7 separate regions of the Homo sapiens genome follow, and regions 1, 2, 4, 5, 6 and 7 are each linked to region 3. Evidence: promoter capture Hi-C in 16 types of primary human blood cells and fetal thymus (Javierre and others, 2016). All regions are on one chromosome and are shown on one strand. Each heading gives the region's core, a stretch centred on a gene start or on the middle of the fragment in contact. The rest is flanking DNA. Distances are from core to core; before and after follow the strand shown. Region 1 overlaps DLEU1 (deleted in lymphocytic leukemia 1). Region 2 overlaps DLEU2 (deleted in lymphocytic leukemia 2). Region 3 holds the start of DLEU7-AS1 (DLEU7 antisense RNA 1). Region 4 overlaps DLEU1 (deleted in lymphocytic leukemia 1). Region 5 overlaps DLEU1 (deleted in lymphocytic leukemia 1). Region 6 overlaps DLEU2 (deleted in lymphocytic leukemia 2). Region 7 overlaps DLEU1 (deleted in lymphocytic leukemia 1).

What was found. Contacts are between HindIII fragments. The CHiCAGO score rates a contact against its expected background, and 5 or more counts as called.
Region 1: a contact is called between a fragment that was not itself captured here and the fragment with the promoter of DLEU7-AS1 in region 3, in 7 of 17 cell types (total B cells, M0 macrophages, naive B cells and 4 more). The highest score is 6.7, in total B cells.
Region 2: a contact is called between a fragment that was not itself captured here and the fragment with the promoter of DLEU7-AS1 in region 3, in 7 of 17 cell types (total B cells, fetal thymus, naive B cells and 4 more). The highest score is 10.1, in total B cells.
Region 4: a contact is called between a fragment that was not itself captured here and the fragment with the promoter of DLEU7-AS1 in region 3, in 1 of 17 cell types (monocytes). The highest score is 5.2, in monocytes.
Region 5: a fragment that was not itself captured here is called in contact with the fragment with the promoter of DLEU7-AS1 in region 3 in 9 of 17 cell types (endothelial precursors, naive B cells, monocytes and 6 more); the score reaches 10.3 in endothelial precursors.
Region 6: a contact is called between a fragment that was not itself captured here and the fragment with the promoter of DLEU7-AS1 in region 3, in 5 of 17 cell types (naive B cells, total B cells, fetal thymus and 2 more). The highest score is 13.7, in naive B cells.
Region 7: a contact is called between a fragment that was not itself captured here and the fragment with the promoter of DLEU7-AS1 in region 3, in 6 of 17 cell types (fetal thymus, total B cells, megakaryocytes and 3 more). The highest score is 7.7, in fetal thymus.

What each region holds. Positions count from the first base shown.
Region 1 is chr13:50,189,552-50,192,859 of GRCh38, forward strand. The region is part of intron 2 of DLEU1 (deleted in lymphocytic leukemia 1); the gene reads left to right. Among named protein-coding and RNA genes, the nearest start is that of DLEU2, 66 kb to the left of the region's middle. The HindIII fragment of the contact is 223 bases long and covers 1,235-1,457 here.
Region 2 is chr13:50,096,846-50,099,993 of GRCh38, forward strand. The region is part of intron 1 of DLEU2 (deleted in lymphocytic leukemia 2); the gene reads right to left. All of the region lies in intron 2 of DLEU1 (deleted in lymphocytic leukemia 1), which reads left to right. It also overlaps the pseudogene RPL18P10. Among named protein-coding and RNA genes, the nearest start is that of DLEU1, 16 kb to the left of the region's middle. The HindIII fragment of the contact is 2,880 bases long and covers 1-2,690 here.
Region 3 is chr13:50,806,237-50,809,207 of GRCh38, forward strand. It overlaps DLEU7-AS1 (DLEU7 antisense RNA 1), which reads left to right and starts at 1,619. Exons shown (of 5, transcript NR_046551.1): 1 at 1,619-1,750; 2 at 2,304-2,470. It also overlaps a transcript of DLEU7 not described here. The HindIII fragment of the contact is 1,259 bases long and covers 1,566-2,824 here.
Region 4 is chr13:50,209,326-50,212,653 of GRCh38, forward strand. All of the region lies in intron 2 of DLEU1 (deleted in lymphocytic leukemia 1), which reads left to right. Among named protein-coding and RNA genes, the nearest start is that of DLEU2, 85 kb to the left of the region's middle. The HindIII fragment of the contact is 2,423 bases long and covers 302-2,724 here.
Region 5 is chr13:50,156,130-50,159,393 of GRCh38, forward strand. The region is part of intron 2 of DLEU1 (deleted in lymphocytic leukemia 1); the gene reads left to right. Among named protein-coding and RNA genes, the nearest start is that of DLEU2, 32 kb to the left of the region's middle. The HindIII fragment of the contact is 2,044 bases long and covers 312-2,355 here.
Region 6 is chr13:50,068,711-50,072,030 of GRCh38, forward strand. It overlaps DLEU2 (deleted in lymphocytic leukemia 2), which reads right to left. Exons shown (of 14, transcript NR_152566.1): 3 at 2,806-2,919; 4 at 1,872-1,931. Among named protein-coding and RNA genes, the nearest start is that of DLEU1, 12 kb to the right of the region's middle. The HindIII fragment of the contact is 354 bases long and covers 1,387-1,740 here.
Region 7 is chr13:50,139,159-50,142,083 of GRCh38, forward strand. All of the region lies in intron 2 of DLEU1 (deleted in lymphocytic leukemia 1), which reads left to right. Among named protein-coding and RNA genes, the nearest start is that of DLEU2, 15 kb to the left of the region's middle. RefSeq lists an enhancer at 1,726-2,399. The HindIII fragment of the contact is 7,969 bases long and covers 1-2,925 here.

The DNA.
Region 1 (3,308 bases), core at 96-2,595, 620 kb before region 3:
GTAAGATGTCTTTTGGTTTTGTTTTATCATCATTCCTCATCTGAGAACCAGAGAGAGAAAGCTGTCAACAAGTTATAGGTTCGTCCAGTTGGTGGAGCTGTTTGGGCCACAGCACAGGGACATATCTTTTGGGTGGCAAGTTCTAGGTATGGGGCTCTTTCATTTGCAGGTGGCTTATCCAAGAGGGCTGGAGATGTAGCTCCTAATATTCTTAATCCAGTTAACCGGGATGCTAACATGTTGTACTGATGTTACTTCTGTGGCAAAACTTCTCAGAGATCTTGGGCCCAGTAACTGGTCCAAAAGAAAGACTTGAGAGGAAGAATGGCTTTACCTGAAGTCTATGGTCATTCTTATTGCTGTTTTTTGTGCGTTCAATTCAGACTTTCAGCTTGGTCACTGTTCTTCTCTTCTTCCCCTTCCTCTATGTGGTTGGGGACTGGAAAAGGGTGTCCTAGTTGTTCGAGACCCTATCCTGGACTGCTCTTTGCTCCTATCTATCCAACTTCTCAAAGTTCAGCTTTGCTTTTCCTTTCCTGCCTTGTACTCACCCCTTTGGGCTAATGAGATTCTCAGCTTTTTCCAAACGCTGACTCTTCTCTCATCTCTAGGTCCTTTGGGTAAACATCTCTTCCAACCTTGATCTAATTTTTAAAAAACTGCCCCTTATCACTAATTTTAGAAGCAGCAAACTCATTATATAGTAATTTAGATTAAAATATATATATAATTATTGTATTCCTGGATTTTGTTCTTTTTTTCTTGTTTAGTTCTGAATTTTGCTCCTCTAGGATATTCTTAGTAAATCTCTAAGGAAAATGCAAAATCTGCCACTAATAAAAGCAGCCACTGACATGGATGGGATCTAGGGCGAAAGCAAATGGGGAAAAATGGGAAACTTAAAAAATAAGAGAAATGCCTTTTTTTTTTTTTTTAAAGCCAGAGACATGATCTTGCTGTGTTGTCCAGGCATTTCAAACTCCTGGGCTCAAGCAATCCTCCTGCCTCAACCTCTCAAAATGCTGGGATTATAGGCATGAAATGCCTATTTTTGAATGGATACTTTTAAAATTATCTACTTATCTAGTATGCTCCCAGCATCTGAAGAGCAGATAGGATTCATTGATGAAAGGGTGAGGTGGTTAAAACATACAGGAGGCCAAGACTAGTAGTTAGCCCTGTGTAGGTATCACAGGATTACTTGGGTCAGAGACTCAAGCAGAAGTCTCTTTAAAGCTTTTCTAAATGATAAACATTGTTGGAATGGGGTAAAGTTGTTCTACTGCAAGAAAACTCTTCATCAGAAGAAATTAAGAATTAATTATCCTTATCTAATTAGACTAGGTGTTTCTCAATAACAAGAAAAAGTAGTTGCTGCTTGCATTGCTTTTACTCTGGCACTAGTATAATGCAGTCATTATTGGTCATAAAGCACTCTAAAACCAATTAATTTGTAAAGCTTATTTTGACAAGAAGTAAATACAAAGGTAAGGCATAGTTAGCATAATGCTGCTATCATGGCACTCTTGGGCATAATTTATATACATAAAAAATACAAGGGCAAGTATAACTTTCAAGCTGATTGCCTGTAAAAGACTTAATTGAAAACAGTTTTCTGCTTTTAAAAAGTGATTTATTTTAGATGTGCTTTAAAAAACAAAGGTCTTATTGATAACCATTTTGAGTATATTATCTCGATGTGGGATTTAAGTAAAAGGTCAAATCTTATAGAAGTATTTTTGGTATGACTCAATTCTGATCACAGATAAACTTTATCAAGAAAATGAAATTAGTTAAACATTTTCATGCCTGAGCACTAGTTTAAAGAGGCAGCAATTTTTTTTTTTCACAAAGACTTCAAGAAGAGAACTTTGGTTGAGAAACCTAGAAAACAAAGAACTCAAGATGTTATCGTATAAATGTTCTTTAAACAAGTTAATATTATGAGAGGGGAAAAGCATTAGATATGTTTCACTAGAAGAATAAACAATTCACATGTGTAATTTTTGCAGTGGATAGACAAATCTCAGATCTTTTCTGCCTGATATCATTTGCATTTATTCAGCTTATTCAAGTAAAAGACTTATATTTTATTTCAGAAAAGCTAACATGGAACTTTTAATTTTACATTTAAGTCCTGTTTAGTTGTAATTCTCACTCCCCCAGCCCCTGTAGCCTCCTGAACAGCTCTGACTTGCTTTTTTTCTGAATCCAGCATCAGTCCTACAATTAGTCCATTGGCCAGGTGATGGTCATGTGCCTGGTTAGAGTAGGGCAGGCTCCATTTGCTGATGGGCTGTGCGACTCAATGTTCACAAATGTTTAGTCATTCAGCTCCTTTTCAAGGAATAAGCCTGGATCAGGCAAGTAATTAACCTTTGCTAGTCCCAAGGTTTGTTCATTAGAGGCAGGGAAGGAGGAATCTTCTCACTTTTCTTCTCAGTCCTACTGCTCGCCCCAGCTTTATGAAACATGAGCTATGTCCTAAGGGAAGAGCAAGTGGGCCTCAGGTCCTCAGAAAGCACCACAAAACTCTTAAAATATTAAGCGTAGGAGTCTATTGTTCCTTTGTTTTCCTGGACAGGGAAACCTCTTTAACATTGGACTTCATTGTCTGTACCCCATTTCCTGTTCTTACAGTGGCTGTTCAGTCAGCATGATGGCCGGTGGGACCTGGAGGTCCAGCAGCAGCTAAGATGTCCAGGCCCTACTCGTTTGTACCCCTGGTAGCATTCTGCCTTAGATATGAGAGACACTTCCCAGGCTCTTCCTGCATTTCCATCTTATGCTCTGGCAAGCAAATGCCAATCTTGGCTCTTTTCCACTTAAAATAGTCCTTCTACTTTTTATCTGCTGTGTAAATTGGGGTTAGAAATATTGACTTAAACTGCACCAGACTCTGCTGCCAGCTTGCCCATTCTCCATTACCCAAGTCTTCCTCCCTAACAGAACCCAGAGTTTGTTCATATATTGGCAGCAATGTACTCAGCCCGGGCAATGGATCTTGACTGGTTTCAGCCAATCAGAATATCTTCTATTAAGGATAAGGATAGCTTCCCTGCAGCTAGGGGTGGCTGAGTAACCTTGTTCTGACCAGTAAGATTTAAGCAGCAGAAGTCCACTGGGAAGAAGGGAATGGGGAAGGAAGACTCCTGGGAAAGCTTTTGTGCTCTTAATAAAAGAGCAGAGAAACTGCTGTGCTGCTTGCCCCTTCATCTTGGCTTGAAAACAAATGTATTGCCTGGAGCTGAGGCAGCTATTTTCTGACCATGAAGTAATAAGCCTTATTGTTTGACATGTGAATGCAA
Region 2 (3,148 bases), core at 1-2,500, 710 kb before region 3:
TCTAATTATTGAAGATTCCTATCTAGTGGTATTCTAATATGCTTACCAAATTATGAGTTGCATTACTTTTTAAAAACCTAAAACCAAGTCAAGATTTACAGAGTGACCCCAGTTTATTTTGTTTGGTAAGTTTTCAGTTCCAGTTATTAGGCAAAACAAAAATTGCTAATACGTAACAATGCTGAAACAGGCGATTGGTAGAATAAAACAAAAGGGATTCATACAGCTTTTGTACTGTCTTCTTGAAAAAGTCATATTTGGCCATAAAAGCTAATACATGCTTTAGGAATGGAAATGATTTAACCTGATTTTTTCAAGTAAGATTTGTTCAAGAATAATGGGCTTATGTTGTCAGTTGTGGGTTCAAGCAGTAATTCACTTTGGACTGCTTCTATTCAACAGTATGCTGTCTGTACGTAAAGAGTTACATGGAATTTAATTTTAGCATTGGAATCTATTTGAGATACCATTATCTTTTATATTCAAATGAAAAATTATGGGCCTCTAGAATTAAGTGTTACTAACCTGATATAGATAGAATAATAGCTGTATCAAAAGGAAAAAAGCAAGGATAATATGTGTATAGGGTTTGAATCATACAGTCTCACTAGAGATGTGTTTTTTAAAATTGTGAATGTTTGTTGATTCATTCAAAACCGTTTGAAAATTGTGAGGGAGCCAGAAAAGGGGAGAATATTTGGATGTATAATTTAGATGTATAGTTTGCTTGCTTATCAGGGAATAGTTAAGTTCCTTTTTTTTCTGTATATTTTAGTTGGTGAAATTAACAGTTTTTGTTCTTTTAGATTACCCTGTAAAAGAACATGGCATTTTATAGATGAGATAATTGAGGCTTATACATGTTGAGTTATAATGTGTGGAGGAGTCTGATGTGCATCCAAGTCTGTCTGCCCCTAATGTCTCTGTTTTTAACCATTATCCTCAGAATGAAATACATTCATATAGTAGAGACCAATTCTTAAACAGAAGTCATCTTTACTCACAAAATTAATCTGTGAAGTACCCACTGTTCTCAGTTTCTCTCCCTCTCACTTTTTCTTTCTAGTGCTTTGCAGTTTTTAATGAAAGTGAATATTTTTTTCAGAAATTATTATTTTCATGTTTTTTATTAGAGGATTAAATTTGTTGCTAAGATCATTTAGTAAGTCTTTTGCAGTCTTTTAAGATTAGACTTAAGTGTAAACTTAAAGATTGCCTTGAAGTATATTATTTAGCTATATTGCATTATTATTCCTTATGTAATGAGCTATAGACTGAGCACTCCTTGACAAATCACAAGAATAAGACCCAAAGAATCAAACTTTCCCAAGTAACTTAACTGCATCCCAGGACAAAACTCAGGAACATTTAGAGGAACAGAAGACTATCCAGCAGCCAACAGATAAAATTCACAATGCCTTGCCAGGCACACAAAGAAGCCAGAAAAAATAATCCACAATGATGAAAACAATCAATCATCTGAAAGTGACCTTAAGCAGAGAAAGATGTTAGAACTAGTAAAGACATTGAACATTATTATAGCTATATTCTATATTTTCAGAAAGTAGAGACATGAAAGACATTTTTAAAAACTCAATGCAGTTCTAGGGATGAAAACTACAATATCTGAGATCTACTAATGGTATTTGTAGCAGATTAGACATGGCAGAAGAAAAGGTTAGTGAACTTGAAGGATATAGCAAAAGAAACTACTCAAAAATGAAAGAGAAAAAAGAATGACAAAAGCATCAGTGAGCTATGGGACAAACTTACAGAATCCTTATGTAAACATAATCAGAGGCATCAAAGGAGAGGAGAGGCAGATACAAAAGGGATATTTGAAAAAGTAATGGCCAGAATTTTCAAATTGGACAAAAACTATTAACTCACAGATCCAAGAAGCTCAACAAGAAGAAAACTACACCAAGGAATGTCATAATCAAATTATTCAAAGCCAATTATAAAAAATATGGAAAACAGCCACATGTTATAGAGTAACAAAGATAAGGTTGACAGCAGATTTCTCATTAGAAACATTGCAAGTGAAGAGACAGTAGAACATAAAGTACTGAAAGAAAAAAATGTTAACCTCAGCAAAATATCATTCAAAAAACAAAGGCAAAATAAAGATGTTTTCAGACATACGAAAACAACTCTTTACCATCAGGTAGACTGAAGGTAGACTGTGGTAGGGTGAAGATGTATACTGCCCTAGGGCAACCAGTAGAATAACAAAACAGTTATAGCTAATAAGTCAACAAAGGAGATAAGATAGAATCACAAAAAAATACTCAACCCAAAAGAAGGTGGAAAAAGGAACAAATAAGTAGTGAAACTAATAGAAAAATGGCAAGGCAATAGACTGTAATCATATCAGCAATCACATTAAATGCATATTATCTAAATATCCCACTTAAAAGGCAAAGATTGTCAGATAAAAAGCAAGACTGCTTTTGGACCTGGATGAACAGGAGGCACCATCACGGAAGTTGACTCCTGCCACAACAATGACTGAAAGGTTCAACACCAGGAACCCAAGAGCCAGGACATCTACTGAAGGCTGTTGGTTAAGCTGTATATGTTTCTGGCCAGAAGAAACTCTACCTTCAACCAAGTTGTGGTGAAGAGGTTATTTATGAGTTGCACCAAATGGCCATCTCTGTCTCTTTCCTGGATGATCTGGAAGATGAAGCTTCCTGGCCAGGAAAACAAAACAGCTGTGGTTGTGGGGACCATGTTCAGGAGGTGCCCAAACTGAAGGTGTGTGCACTGCACATGAGCAGTTGGGCCTGCAGCCAAATCCCCAAGGCTGGGGACAAGATTCTCACCTTTGACCAGCTGACCCTGGACACCCTCAAAGGCTGTGGCACCATCCTGCTCTCTGGGCCTCACAAGGGCCAAGAAGTGTACTGGCATTTCAGCAAGGCCCTGGGAACCCAGCATAGCCACACTAAGCCCTGTGTCCACTCCAGGGACCAGAAATTCAAGCACATCAGAGGCTGATGGGCCAGCCAAGGCTACAAAAACTAACCCTGGATCCTCTATCTTATTAAAAAGATTTTGGCCTGGGCGCAGTGGCTCATCCCTGTAATCCCAGCACTTTGGGAGGCCAAGGAGGGCAGATCACTTGAGCCTAGGAGTTCAAGAC
Region 3 (2,971 bases), core at 369-2,868:
GATATGAATAAGAAAATACTCACTTAGCTCTGCATGTTAAAATTGGAAGTCCTCAGATAATATTCCAAGAAATTATTTTTTATTTTCATCTTTGGTTGGTTGTTTTTTGACCATTGGATAGAGATCTTAGCATACTAAATGTCTTTATCCTGAATATATAGAGATTTTCTCTCCTTAATTTAATGATTTTATGACTTCTGCAATTCTTTTAGTGATTATTTAGTTCTCAATGAAGAACATAAACACAACTTTTTAAAAAACATGTATTAGTAAGGAAAAATTTGTTTTATATTTTCTATTGCCCTAAATTCTGACTCATATTAGACAGCTCGGAGTAATATTTAATACTTGAAACTTCACAAGTAATTACAAATAAATAAATGCTATAAATATTAAAAAATAGGAGCAATCTCAACTTTATCCTCACATTTTTCTGCTAAGACTTATTTAGTTACATATTGGGCTTATTTTAAAATTTAACCAAAATTATTTGATCTTTAATTATGTTTTTACCTAGAAATGTATATTTAAAAATAAAGTGTAATTCCAGTTGTATTTATACTATTCAGAATTTCAGAAGTCTGTAATCCCAGCTACTCGGGAGGCTGAGGCAGGAGAATTGCTTGAGCCTGGGAAGTGGAGGTTGCAATGAGCAGAGATCGCACCATTGCACTCCAGCCTGGGTGACAGAGCTAGACTCACTGCACTCTAGCCTGGGTGACAGAGCTAGACTCCCTCTCAAAAAAAAAAAAAAAAAAAAAAGTCGGTCTGCTCCTCTGCCTTTTTTTTTCCTACTTTTAAGAGTAGTCTGCCTCCGCAAACTTTAGTAAAGAAGTACTAAAATTAAGTGTGTTAAATGGTGTTAAGATATATATAAAAATTAATTTTTAAAGAGAGTTTAGATTGTTATCTTTAAATTTTTTTATACATTTCATAAAACATAAGTATTTCCTAATCATTAATAGGTTTTAATGAGCTTTAGTAGATGAGCAGAAATATCAGAGATATAAAATGATACTATACCGGCTTCCTTAAGAAGCTTTCTATTATTTCTTAGAATCCTGCTTTATTCTCTTTCTTGAATTCATACATGGCATTTAAAAATCTCTTAAAGATGGTCATCAAAAACAAACAAATTTTTTAAAAGATGGTATTTGACATCTCCCCTCCCTCCTCCTGCTTCTCTCAAGCACCAGTTTCCAGGTACCACTGCCTATAAAGCCTTTTCCAAACACAAATTTAATCTTTGAGTGTTGAGGTTTTTTTGGTGTTTTTTTTTTTAAGGTAATGTATTATCCTATGCAATGATATTGAGCTTTTGACTGAGAAATTGTGAAATCAAAAGTAAAGTATAGGAATTCCTTAATGGACATTTCAAGAACTTTGAAAGGCTATTGTAAGGGGAAGAAAGAGGGAAAATCTGTTTCAGTAGGAGACCTTCTCACCTCTTTACTCATAAGCCAGCCCGGGCATCATATGACTTCATCAGACTGCAACTTACTGTTCTCCCCTTTGTGGGGAGTGTCAAATGCTATAATAGAGTTCTCCAGTCTGAGGTCAGCGAAAGCTTCTCAAAGGAGATGATGCCTGGCTAAAGGGACTTTCTTTCTGAGAAAGGGATCAGCATGTGCAAAGATGAAGAGGCATAAGGACTGACCAGTGGGTCACGGCAATGAGACATTTACTGCTGACCTCCAAGAGAAGACTTCCATTGAATGAGAGGAAGATCTACACTACTAATGATCAAACTGTGAGTGTTTTAGCTTTGTAGACTTATCAGGAACTTGGGAGATCAAGAAGACAGGATCAAACAGCAAATGGAGCTTTATCAGAAATGAAGAAAAGCATTTCTCCACAGTCCTAAGCTAAACCCTTTCTGCTAGTCCCAGTTCTTATATGTGCATCAAGGCAAAAAAACATTAATCAGAACAGGAATGTTTGATTGCTCATTCAAATTTGAAATAAGCAGCTTCCATTCTTCTAACCTTCCCTGGTGGGGCCATAACATTATCAATCAATATCAAGTCTGGCATATCATTGGCTATCACTATCCAGTGAGTATCTGAGGCAGCTGAAAGAAATTGGGGCATCCATGTAAGAATATTCATTTTCTATCATTATTTACTTAAATATGTAATATATCAAGATCTGTTAGACATATTTAAGTATATATACTTATATGAGGTTGGGGGTCCCTGCAAGAAGTACCAAGTGTTTCTAGAAGAAATGTACTTGAATATAATCGCTGTATAATCACTGTGAGAACAGAGTTCCATATCTGTCCTGTACATGCTTGTCTCTAGTACCTGGAGCAGTATCTGACACAGATATGTGTTGAGTGAATGGATGAATAAATAGATAGAAGGAAGATCCTCCAACTATGAAGTTTCTTCTTTTCTTCTGCTGCTGTTGAGTAGATGAGGGTGCCAAGAAATAAGACAGCAACACCAGGAAGAAGAACAAATTTGGGGTGAGTAGGGGTGGAAAGGATGACTGATTTATAAATTGGGTTTAGGAGCCAAGAGTTATGCTCTAGCAATTGGGTATAGTAGAAGATATTTAAATAAGAAATTGCTGATATTCTTGCAAACTGAGCTTTTCTGTAAAATCATGAGTTTAGAATTCTTTATTTCAGAAGGAAAAAAAAAAACTTAGAAAGGTCAGTTGGAACAAAAAGGGAAATTAAAAAGCCACAGAGAGAAACAACTATGGTGTCCTGGGGTACATTTAAAATAAGAAGGTACTTAAGCAAAATCATTGCGTTGAGGACATTTTCTTAAATAGGATCAATTACCAGTGTCCCAGTCAATTCCACATGTCAAGAAGCTTGTCTACCTACTTGACTGACCCAGGCCTAAAAATGATAATAGCAACTTGGTGGAGTTATCTAAAGTTTGACAACCTTTCCTCACCAACCGGCAGCCCCATAGGACATATTAATCACTGCAGTTTTTACCTTGTACCAGATATT
Region 4 (3,328 bases), core at 263-2,762, 600 kb before region 3:
CTAAAATGTGTTCTTGTAAAGTCTTAGGCTCCTAAAAAAATCATTTGAATATGGATTTTAAATATTCTCAGAAGTTTGAGAAAATATTCCTACTAACTATGACAGGGAACAAATACATACAAATTAGTTAATAACATCATGCTAAAACGTATAATGTGATTTTCAAAACATGCTAAAGAGTTAAAAAGTCTTTTTAAAATTTGTTTATTTTTTATTTCTCTTCCCTCTTAGAGCGTAAAAAGTTTTAAGAGGGTTTTTTGTTTTTTCTTGATATTTAAAATTTTGGTTTGATGCTGAGAAAAGCTTTCCACATACTAGGCACGTAATAGATATTCAGTATTATGTGATCACAGGAAGTAAAATAAGTTAGAGAGATCAGAGAGATTATTCTGTATTTAAAGGATTGAGATTTTCTACTATTTTTAGCCAAAGAACAATATGCAACCTTGAGTTAAAAGATTCCTTATTACTGATTGGGAGTTTGACTGTTTTGCAAAAACTGTGCTTGCCACATATTGTCAGATGATGATGAAAAATCTAAGTTTAGGCTTGACATATAGTGAATTATGTGGCTTTTCCCCAACTTGAATAAACATACTTAAAAAAAATCCCACTGGTTTATTTGTCTTCATGTAGCTTGCTTACCTCACAAGGTTTATTTCAGTAGTCATTTAAAACCAAATTTCTGAATTCTTACATTGTATAGAAATATCCCAGGAACCATTTTTGGGTTGAACAAGACTTTTATATTAGTTCCCCAGTCATAACAATATTTTCTTGAAGTTACAGTAATATATTCTTGAAGGCATAATAATACATTCTTGAATATATTATTGAAATTCAACTTATATGAGAATATGTTAAGAATGTATGAGAATATATTAAAGAATATATTGAATGGTGGTATTACTTATATATTATTTATCACCATTTCTGGATATAGTGATATGCTTTTTTTTTTTTGAGACAGGGTCTCACTCTGTCACCCAAGCTGGAATGCAGTGGCAGGATCGCGGCTCACTGCAACCTCGGCCTCCTGGGTTCAAGCAATTCTCATGCCTCAGCCTCTCAAGTAACTGGGACTACAGGTGTGCACCACCGCACTTGGCTAATTTTTGTATTTTTTGTAGAGACAGGGTTTCACCATGTTGGTCAGGCTTGTCTTGAACTCCTGACCTCAAGCAGTCTGCCCATCTTGGCCTCCCAAAGTGCTGGGATTACAGGCGTGAGCCACCATGCCCAGCCTGGATATGGTGATATGATGTTTAGTTAGCCACAGCCTCTGGTGAGGACAGTTGACTAATTTAAAAATGCTTGGCACACACATGAGCATTGTATCCTGCTGAGAGTCTTCCACAGATTTGTCCTTTGGTCTAACTTATATTTCTCTAGGTGAAGTTTACACTCATTTCTTTTTGTTCTACCCTTATCGGTGACTAAGAGACCAGCTGTATTCCAACTTCTGAATACTGGCAGAATTCTGAATCAGTAGCTCTTCCAAAAGGGCCTAGCTTACCTCAGAGAATCAGTCTGACCCTTGTGTCCTTGTCTCCTCTATGGAGAACATGGAGTTGCTTTTCTTTGCAGTTGGTTGTAGCTTAAACCATAGTGCATTGCTGAGTCGTGTGATGTGTGATTCATCAGGCCTCAGGTGACAACGGTGGATTTCCTTCAGGAATGAGTAGCAAACATTTTGGCCCCTCTTTGGGTGCCAAGCACCATGAGGTAAGGGAGTACTTTACAGACCCCTAGAGATCCACGGGTGCTCTAGATATAGCCATATTTCAGCCCCTGGATCCTTTGTTAGTGCCATATTAGGAGAATGCCTGTGGAAATGGCTTCTTTTCTCCACATAAGGCTTTTCTTTTTCTATTTTTAAAAATTTGGACCACCAGGCAAGAACACATCAGGAATTTTTCTGTTTAATTTGAACACATGTGTTAAGAGGCAGAGTATAGAAAGTAGTCTGAGACTAGAGAATCTAATGGAGTAACTAAGAGGGTTTACACCTAGGATATTGGAATTAGCTATGTCCTAGGCTATAAATCTAAGGTATCTTTGTTCTAAAATGAAACATGACACAGACATGACAGATGACAAAGAGTACACTTTATTGTAGATCCATATAATACTGAGAAAATTATTTTTCTGCAAATCTCCTTGGAGATCAGGATGGGGTTGAACCTCACCTGAACCTTAAGTCATGGAAAGTGAAGGAGAATTTTAGGATGGCATACAGTACAATGATCTTTAAAATGAACTGCAGGGCCAGGCGCGGTGGCTCATGCCTGTAATCCCATTACTTTGGGAGGTTGAGGCGGGCAGATCACGAGGTCAAGAGATCGAGACCATCCTGGCCAATATGGTGAAACCCTGTCTCTATTAAAAATACAAAAATTAGCTGGGCGTGGTGGCACGCGCCTGTAGTCCCAGCTACTCAGGAGTCTGAGGCAGGAGAATCGCTTGATCCCAGGAGGCGGAGGTTGTAGTGAACCAAGATCGTGCCACTGCACCCCAGCGTGGGTGACAGAGCAAGACTCCGTCTCAAAAAAAAAAAAAAAAAAAGAGAGAGAGAGAAAGAAAATGAACTGTAGAACACTGATGTTCTTCTGGCAAGACCAAGTTGTTTTGCCACTAAAATATTGGAAAAATAAGTGTCTTTTCTTGATTTTAAGAAAAACACTTTCCCAGAATTATGTATGCTTTTCTCCCAATACTTTTTAAAGCTTTGGTGTTTGTTTCTGTACTAGAATCTAGTGTAAGAAAGATCTGACTGAGGGCACATGTTCTCAGGATCTCCTGAGGGCTGTGTCACAGGCAAAAACGTGGAATAAAATAAAATAAAATATCCAATTAAGCATAACACATTAACTTTAAAAAAACCTAAGTGTAGCAGTATTTAATAGTGTTTTGCAAAGATGCTGTTACTTTCATGACACCTACCACCTGAAGAAGTTTGAGAAGGACCAGGTTCTAATTGTGCAACTGCCATTAACTAGCTAGCTGTCCTTGGATAAGCCTAGAAAAGCTGCGTAAAGGAGGAAGGATTTGAATTGGACCCTGAAAGAAAGTCAGATCTTAGAAAAGCAGAGAGGGGAGGGGGAAGTTATTTCTAATGAGAGAAGAGGAGGGTAAGGAGATCAAAGACCTAAGAAGTATAAAGTTTATGTGGGTAATAGAGAGAACATCTGCTTGCCATGAATTTCTCTTGAGTTTTTTTGGCCCCAGTGTAGAACTAGTGTCTCTGTTCTCTGCTGTGACCTCACCTGGAAATGTCTATTAGTTTATCATGCCATGCTGGATTAAAGAAAAACCACAGAGAGAGGAG
Region 5 (3,264 bases), core at 84-2,583, 650 kb before region 3:
TGCTCAGGCCAAAATGCCAGAAAGTGAACCTCAGTTTCTTGGTAATAATAAGGTGAACTGGCTTCCAGCAGAGAGATTTTGTGGCTTCTGTATCCTGCCGCTGCACTTCTCCCTTCTCCAGCCTCCTTTCTATTTGGTGGTGCAGAATCACCTTGGTCAGCCCTTTGACCTTGCCTGGAAAAAAGTCCTCATCAGTGAGTGAGTGTGAGGTTAGAGTGATAAAGATTCTAAAGGAATGCCTTGTTTTGATTCAAATAGTTGGATTAGTCACAGAGTTACTTAATCCACACACATAGTAGAATCCTCCAGCAAGCTTCTTTGTTTTCATCAGAGCTTTTGAGAGATTATTATATTATATCTCTATCTTTTAAAGATAGAGTAGAAATCCATCTATGAAGAATAGTTTTAGGTGCATTCCTGCCTGAACACACATTTGGACAGTCTTATAATTATGTATCTTCCCGAGATGCATTTTGAGCCATTTCTACCCAGAACTTAAAAAAATATTTCCTATGAGTGCTGGAGGTTCTTGCTTCTCTTAACCCACTAACTTTTTGAAGCCATAAGAATATCTTATTAAGGATTATGCAAAATAACGTCCTACAAATCCTGATATTATTACACTGCCCAAAAAACTTCAAAGCATCAGGAAAGTGTTGTGTTTTTTTTTTTTTTTTTTTTTTTTTAACTAAACCAGATTCAGCTGGCTACCCCACTTGGCTACAGAGTACTAAAGAAGAGACTGAACTTGATCCTGCTGCCCTTGCATACACAACACTCCCATTGACGCTAGTGAAGACTTAAGCGCATGAAAGGATTCCAGGATCAAAAGGTTAGCTCTATGGGGAGCTGTGTCTGGCTCAAGCAATCCATTTTTTTCTATTGACAGTGAAAACGTTTTATAGTTCTTTTTCAAAGTTTTCCCAAACTTTTACAATAACAGGCAACTTGTGAAAAAGTGAGAAGGCATCTAATTGAACTATATCCAGAGGAGATCATGGCAGAGACCAACAGGAAGAAAAACATTTCCAAACCACAGCGATATTGGTCAAATCAATTGTATTTGAAGAATAAAGCATTTGAGGCGTCGGCTGAGAAAAATTTTCATTATGAAACTTGGTTGGACTATGAAGCAGAATGTGAGATAAAATAAAACACAGAGCTCATGAGTTTTTATCTTTGTCTGCTAATGACTTATGCTAGCAGGATTATACTTTTTTTTTGCATTTTATGAGATGTATGAACTAGGAAGAAAATACATGCTATATCTAAATGGATTAGACGTGCAGATTCTTAACTAACATTTAATTCATTGCTAGTAAAACAAATGCCTTAAAACATTTAAAAAAGTGAAATTATCTTAAGGAGATAATTAACAAGCAGAGTAGAATAGCATTTTTGAAGAAAGTGTAATATGGTTCTACACTGGCATTTTCTGCATTTATTGAAGATACTTAGTCTATCCAACAATTCACTCATTCATTCTTTCATGAAACCCTGTCTCTACTAAAAATACAAAAAAAAATTAGCTGGGCACGGGGGTAGGCCCTTGTAGTCCCAGCTACTCGGGAGGCTGAGGCAGGAGAATGGCGTGAACCCGGGAGGCAGAGCTTGTAGTGAACCAAGATCGCGTCACTGCACTCCAGCCTAGGTGACAGAGCGAGACTCCGTCTCAAAACAACAACAACAACAACAACAACAACAACAACAACAACAAATTTCTTTGTGCACTTACTATATGCCCAATGCTAATCTAATAGTTTTACAAGACCTCAATTGAACAAGTGTCTGAGGAAATGGATTGCATCTAATAAAGCAAGACACACCAACTGTGGATGGGTGGTGTGTCTAGAGTATTTTGCATTCCTAAATCACTCTTCTGGAGAAAATTTGTATCAATAATTTTGTCTAGCTTCACCTGGAGTTACACATTTTGATTGGTAAGTGGCTTCTGTGATTTGCCTCTTAGAAATACATTATAATGTTATCCTAATATATGTACTAGGACAGACAATGCTACGTTGAACTAACTTGAATAGCATATTTTATAATCATAAAACTGATATAATATTATAGTTTTGATCTTAATCCTCCTCTATTGTATGAGCAATGGAAAGTCTTGGTGAGGAGCTTGTCTAAACATTTCTCTTGCATTTTCACATAATTGGGCTTGACAGTTTCCTGCCATTGTATAGGATAACTTCAGTTGATGGTGATCATGTTTTTGCTTAAGGGTCATTGAATTGTATTAGAAATTTTATACCATATTCTTGTAATCCTATAAGTCATTTTTGAGTTACATTATTGAAAGTGAACAATAATGTACCACAAAACAAAAGTTACTCATGCAGTTAAAGCTTTTTTTTGTACCTAGGTTTAGAAACTACAAGTCCACAGAGAATAGGGCTCGTGAAATAAATGAAAATACACGCTCATCTCCACCCACTCCTTGTTGTTGGGGCCTGGTCAGATCTGGTGAAAACATTAAGCCATTTGCCTTAAGTGGTATTGGCAAGTTAATTTATTCACCTTCTGGAAGGTACCAGGCTAGTGCTTGCAGAGGCAAGATTTTTTTTGGGTGAAGGGAGCAAACTTTTCCACTTAACATGTGCCCATGGAAATCAGGTACTTCTTTTTTCAGCTACCTTAGCTTCTGTTGGGAATTTGAGGGTGTTTTATGGGTTATGTTCTTATACGGTGGTTAAGTAGGCTTGCTGAAATGGATCTAGAAAAGACCCAGGTCAGTCACTGGTTGAAAAAGGGTTGACAGAAAATTAAGGAGATATGACTGAGAGCAGTTTCTCTTTCAGGTCCCCAAATTTCTCCTCTAGCCAATTCACATTAAGGTCTGAAATTTCCCCCATTGGTGTCATTCCGGCCATTGTTTCCAGAAGGGACTTTCAAAAATGCAAATATGTTCCTGTGGAGCATTTGCACATTTGGTGAGTTTGTCAGCCTAAATGAGCAGTTATCTTTGGAACTAAGAAAGAAGGGTCTTAACAGAGAACCAGGTTGGAGGAAGAAAGATCCTGAGAACATTCATGGGAGGTAGGCCAGGGGAAGACATACAGCATGAAACTTTGGCAGTTTAGAAACAAGGGGGATAACTCTTGTTAAGAGAGCTTAAGGGTCACAGAAGACAAATATAGGTCATTTCACAGCCTAATTTGGAGTTTGATCTTCACAGTAGCTCTTTATGGGAGATCAGAAGGCCTTAGCTCAGGTATGGGGAAAAGACTTCCTGTGAAGTCTTTATTCTGCTTG
Region 6 (3,320 bases), core at 314-2,813, 740 kb before region 3:
GTATATTGCACAATTCCAAGTACACAAAGGAAGGAATATATGACATTTTTAAAGATATGCTAGTAATCTGAGTTGGTTAGCATGTTTGGCTTCTGTGGGTCATGATTCTAAGTTGTAGTTGTTACATCAACTAATAGTTAAGCACTTACTATAAGATACAGAATAGAAAGGATATGACAAATTCATCCATGTTCTTAACAGAGCACTGCAAGTATACGCTTTATTGTAGACTAATCTTAACAGAAAAAGAACAGCATGTTTTTAAAAATTTCAAAATCATTTGCTTCAAAATTCACAGAAAAATCAAGGGAATACCAAAATGAACCTCCATATCCTATCTCTGGACTCCCAATCCAGCTGTACTGAAATCTAAAACTATGCCATACTTACTTCCCTTTGTTTTTTATGAAAATTGATTACACATACAGATGATGTCCTTTGTGAGCTATACCCTGATTCCATTCCATTCTTTCCAAAGATGCAAGCATAATCTTGAATTTGATATTTATTTCCTATGTTTTTACACTATTACTACCAATTCAAGAATTTAAACTTTATCATTGCTTTCAAGCTTTTGATAAATGGTATAATATCATACATATTTTATATACGTTACTCTGTATATAACCTTTATGCAACTTATTTGTTTGCTGAAGTAGGATATTCACCCATGATGATAAACACAGCTCTCATTTTAGTAGCTTTACAGTTCATCACATGACTATGTCACAATTTGCCATTCTCTTCTTGCTTAACATTTACATTGCTTTCATTTTTTTCCTATTAAAAATAACCAAGACTTTTTTCTACATGTCTTGAGTTTACCTAGAGCATCTAGGAATAAAATTGTTGGGTTCAAGCCTATTGTATCTTCAACTTTACAAAGATATTGCTAAATGCTCCCACAAGCAGCATATGAAGAGTTCCTCATTTTATATTTCCTCCAACATTTGGAAGCATATTTAAGAAAAACAGCCACTATCTATATGAAAATTTAAAAATTCATAAGTGATCAATTCCTTTGGTTTTCATCAAGTATTGGTTTAACATAGGTATACTAATGTTCCAAACAAAGAGAATAGACTGAAATTTGGCCCAAGGCACTTACATGAAAACAAAGCTCTGATAACACAGATTTTCCTCATGTGACTGAGGAAATACCAAGACTTAATCTATTTTTTAATCAGCCGAATTTAAGATTCAAGAACTTAATCTAGAAATGATAAGATTCCTAATTAAATATTAAGCTTAGATCCAAGATGACCAAAGAGGGGAAAAAAAGATGCAGGAAAAGTAGATAGTTTGTGGGTATGAACAATCCCTCCTCCAAGTTCATTTTGGGCAGTGCTTCTCACAAATGTGGTGCTCCTAAGAAAAATCTCTTAAAGCTTGTAAAAAAATGCAAATTCCAGGTCTGGAAAAATGTTTTTATTTTATTTTTTAAATTCTAGGTTATTCTCATACAGGTGGTTTGCAGGCAACTAAGCAGTAAGTAATGATTAAAAATGAGGTGCTTTCAATAGAGAGGATTATGTAACTCATGTTTTAGTTAGGGGAGGTAACAGTAATTAATATGTTATCTGTTAAATTACATAAACTTTTTTTTAAAAACCTCTAGCATTAGTCAACAACAACAAAAAAGTAACCTCAATTTATGGCTGAATATGCTTGACTTCACAATGCCAAGAAAGGTTGTGGGCTCATTTATTTTTTCAGATAACTAGACACATACTATGACAAAGCTTTTTTTAGTAATATTACCAGGGAACTAATATTCTGAATTTACTGTGATTGGCACAGGAAAATATTAAGAGTGAGAGTGATCAGGAGTGATTTTAATGAAGGTGACCAGAAAGCAACTATATGATTACCTTTTAAATAGAATGCTATTGCAAATGTCAAACTTTAAATGGGACATTTGGCTTTATACACTAAAAAAAAAAAAAAAAAAAAAAAAAAAGGCATTAGTAGTTTCCCACCAAGACCGCTACAAATAAATTCAGAACATTTATAGAAATCCAACATTCACACTTCCCTGTAACTCTAACCTATTGAAATTAGATGTAAAAGGAAGAAAAAAAATAGAATATTTAGGTTATAAAAATCGGCGCAAATTCAAATTATAAAAATAAAAACATTCTTCTATATTATTTGAAATTACAAAGTCCTGTTTCCAAAAGATTTAGAATAATCTAAGCTTTCTAGATAAAAAGTTCAGATAAAAGATATTTCAGTGAGAAATGGTAAATAGAAAAAGTAAGCAGTTTAGTAGTAAGAAAAAAGACATAAGTTTTCATCTGTTGCCTGCTTTTAGTTATTTACAACACTAAGTTAATATAGAATGTTGTTTTCTTTCTTTTATTATAGTGAAATCAACAAGAATTCGGTCTTGTTAGACTGGGCTTTTATAAAACAAAGATAATGTAGTCCAAAAGTGAAAGAAACACTCCTGTGTGGCCATAGCCAGCTTTTCTTTTCTATCCTCAATATATTACCTAACTTGTGATATCAGCAACTAATTATAATTTTTTTCAGTCTACCTGCTTAAAAGTGAAAACATGAAACATACCATATATACATGAAACATACTATATATACCTCCAGAAGCAAGACAGGTTTTCCATTCTAATGGATGGAATTAACTGAATAAAAATTAAATGAACTAAAGCCACAGAGAAATAGTAAAAAATAATAGAGTCTAAGAACTACAAGCATCTACTGTTCTCTTTATGCTGCAACCTTTCTGCTAAAGAATGTATTCTCTATACTGTGTATGTGGTACAGTGACAGTTGGGCTCTTCCCACCTGGGTTTGTAAAAACGGATGGGTGCAGGCTCCTTTGGCCACCATTATTGCATATTGATGTTATTCTGCACAACAGCTGACAAGCAGCATCGATCTCCCAGCCTCTGCTCCCAGCTGTAAGGGGTAAGAACAAGGGCTGTGGTGATAACTTGTTTATTCACTGCTGTTGCTGTTGCTGCTGCTGCTTCTTAAACAGCAAGCTGAGAAAAGAATATCAAACTGACACACAGAGGAAAAATGGTTCAGACATCAATCTACCTCTCAAGGTCTGCTTATATCACTATATGATAAAATTATTTTTAAAATAATTTTTCTTTAAAAAGTGGGGTGGGGAGAGAAAAAAGACAAAATTGGTGTTTTGATTATAAAGGGAACCTATAATGTATGCAAGGAAAAGGAAATTAATGACATATATAATAATCTTCCCCTTGTAAGTCTAGATTTAACCGCTCAATTATCAAAATTCTCTGAAGAGTTTTAACCAATGTTGGGGTAAATTCATTGAGAGTAACTTC
Region 7 (2,925 bases), core at 122-2,621, 670 kb before region 3:
TATGACTACATAATATATGCAAATATTTTATGTTGTTAAATATTGTTCTAGAACATGATTTTTAAATTTCTGTATCATCACCGATGGAAGAATGTACCACATTTTGTCTAACAAATTTCTTTTATTTATTATTTATTTATTTATTTTTTAAATTTTTTATTTTATTTTATTTTATTATTATTACACTTTAAGTTTTACGGCACATGTTCTTATTGTTGAAAGTTTGACTTATTTCCCCTCTTTTTTCTATTATGAATAGTGCTACATTGAGTATCCTGTAGTCTGAGTGTGTGTCTGTTTAGTATTTATGGCATGCTACTTATTTTTTTATTTTTATTTTTAATTGTTGTGGGTACATACACAGTAGGCGTATCTATTTATGGGGTACAATGGCATGCTACTTTTTTTTTTTTAGACAGGGTCTCACTCTGTTGCCCAGTCTGGGGTGCAGTGGAGTGTGATCACAGCTCACTGCAGCCTCAACCTCCTGGGCTCAGGTGATCTTCTCACCTCAGTCTCCAGAGTAGCTGAGACCACAGGCATGCGCCACCACACACTGCTATTTTTGCATTTTTTGTAGAGATGGGGGTCTCACCATGTTGCCCAGGCTGGTCTCAAACTCCTGGGCTCAAGTGATCTGCCCGCCTTAGCCTCCCAAAGTGCTGGATTACAGGTGTGAGCCATTGTGCCTGGACGGCATGCTACTTTTTAAGGCTTTTGATGCACATGGGCAAATTCTAGAATGGCTGTACTGAAGTAGACATTGTGGACAATGCATTTGGGTTCTTGTTTCACACACCAGAGCTTCACTTTTCATCTGCAACGGCATTCTGACCATTTTTAATGAGCATTAGTTATTTGACACTGAGCATACCACTTTCCTAACTTTGAGAAGAAAGAGAGGTATTAAAGTCTTGGGTGTGGCTGTTTTTCAGAATTTACAATTAAAAATCTATCTCAATATTTTGCTGTCTTTAAAAAGCAGTGAAGTCTGAGGAAGGATATTAGTGGATTCAGTGGCTGCTGTTCATAATGCCTGCAGGACATTTTGAGTGTTTCCTTCCTGAGTTCAGAGCCTCATCCTCGCATCTCAATGAGACATTACCCTAGAACCTCTACCACCATGACTACCAGCACTTCTGAATTGAAACTGTCTTTGGCTGTCAATTTGCTTTGGGGACCTTTTCTAGAAGTTAAATTCATTTTTGTGGAGGCTAAAACTAGTCACTCGATCACATTTGTGATATGAGTCATGTTAGAATAAAGATCTAGAAGAGTGGTAGATCCTATCTAACTTGCACAATAGTAGAAAGTGAGGTACAAACAATATTTCTCCTAGTCCCTCTGAGTTCAATCTGGATTTGAGATTTACTTTTCATGATCTGACACAAAGTATGTGTGTGTATGTGTATTTTGAAAAATTTGGACAGGAGTCCCATATGATGTTGAATTAATCAAATATAAATACACACACACACACACACACACAGACACACACAAACACAGAGACACACACTTTATTCCATTAGGGAAAGTATGCTTTCTTTTTTTTCTTTGCTCACAAAACTGAGAAATTGGCAGAATATTTTACTTGTAACTTGGCAGTATTGCAATTTACAGACGAGAAAGGCAAGCCAAATTGGGTGAAAATTGTTTGAGATTTTTTTTCCCAGTTTTAGACAGTGAAAATCATGTAGCTGAGCGTGCACATTCAGCCGTTTTCTGCTTGATTTTTAACCGCGTTTGTTCATTGGCACTGCCAGAGCTAGTTACAACTTCCCGGTGCAAGCATGTGATGGCCAGGGGAAGGTGTGGGGATTCGTGGCTGTCCTCCCCATGCTGTTAATGTTAAAATAACTGTTGTTTGAATTGTTTTGAGATACTGATTAGAGAAATATGAAATGTGATATTATTTGAGCTTCATAAATCCATCTTAATTATCAATATATAAACACAGACTTAGGAGTGGGAGATCCAGATCAGACATGTTTACAGGCCTGAGCTTTTTCCGTGAGTTTCTGGAACATTGTGGTGCCTGAGACACAGCGGGAATCCGACGACTCTGAGAACGGACTTTCCCTTTTAAATGCTGGAGGCTTTGAAATCGTCTTCACAATGAGGGAGGATTCATGAAGTAATGAAAAGCTGTTTCCTCTTTAAAACGTTCAGACAGCAGCACAAACATCTGGGAATTTGTTTGAATATTTGGGTTCCCTGAATTACCCATTTCCTTAACATACATTTTACTTACTTTTCCAAGGGAGATACATTTCCACCTCATGTTTTTCCCAGTTTAGCTGTGTTAGGCTCTTCACTTTAGCATTTAGGTTGCTTTGTATTTAAGGACACAGGTTAAGGCCGTATTATGAAAGGTATGATTTGGGTTTGGGGGAGCAGGATGTTGTTATGCGTGAGGGGCAAAGTGATTTTTGTGTGTGATACAAGTTTCAATTACATCATGGTGTCATCCTTATAAATTAAATTTAAAAACAGTTGTGCCAAAAAAATAGCCACTAATGTTTCTTTTAAAAAATGATTAAGCAACAATATTTACTCAATATTTGAATTAAGCAAAACTGTCATCTTCTTTCTCCTTTTCAGAACATAATTCCTCTTTCAACTTCAGAAGTCATGAGACTTCCCTTTCTTTCTCCATTCTCTTCCTCACACTGCAGTGTCTCAAAGGGTGAAAATGTCTGTGTGTGGGAGAGGGTGGTGGTGGTAGGGCAGTGGTCAGAACATTCTGGAATCCAGGATAAGAAAAACCAGCTTGATTTCTGCACTTAGGACATTGTTGATGTTTATTTAGGGATGTGCTATCTGGATTGATGGAAAAATTTGGAAATACTTAAATATTTCGGTATGTAATATCGGATGATGAGACAGTGCAGCACTGATAGCTTCCTGGTTGTCAGTGTGGCTCTG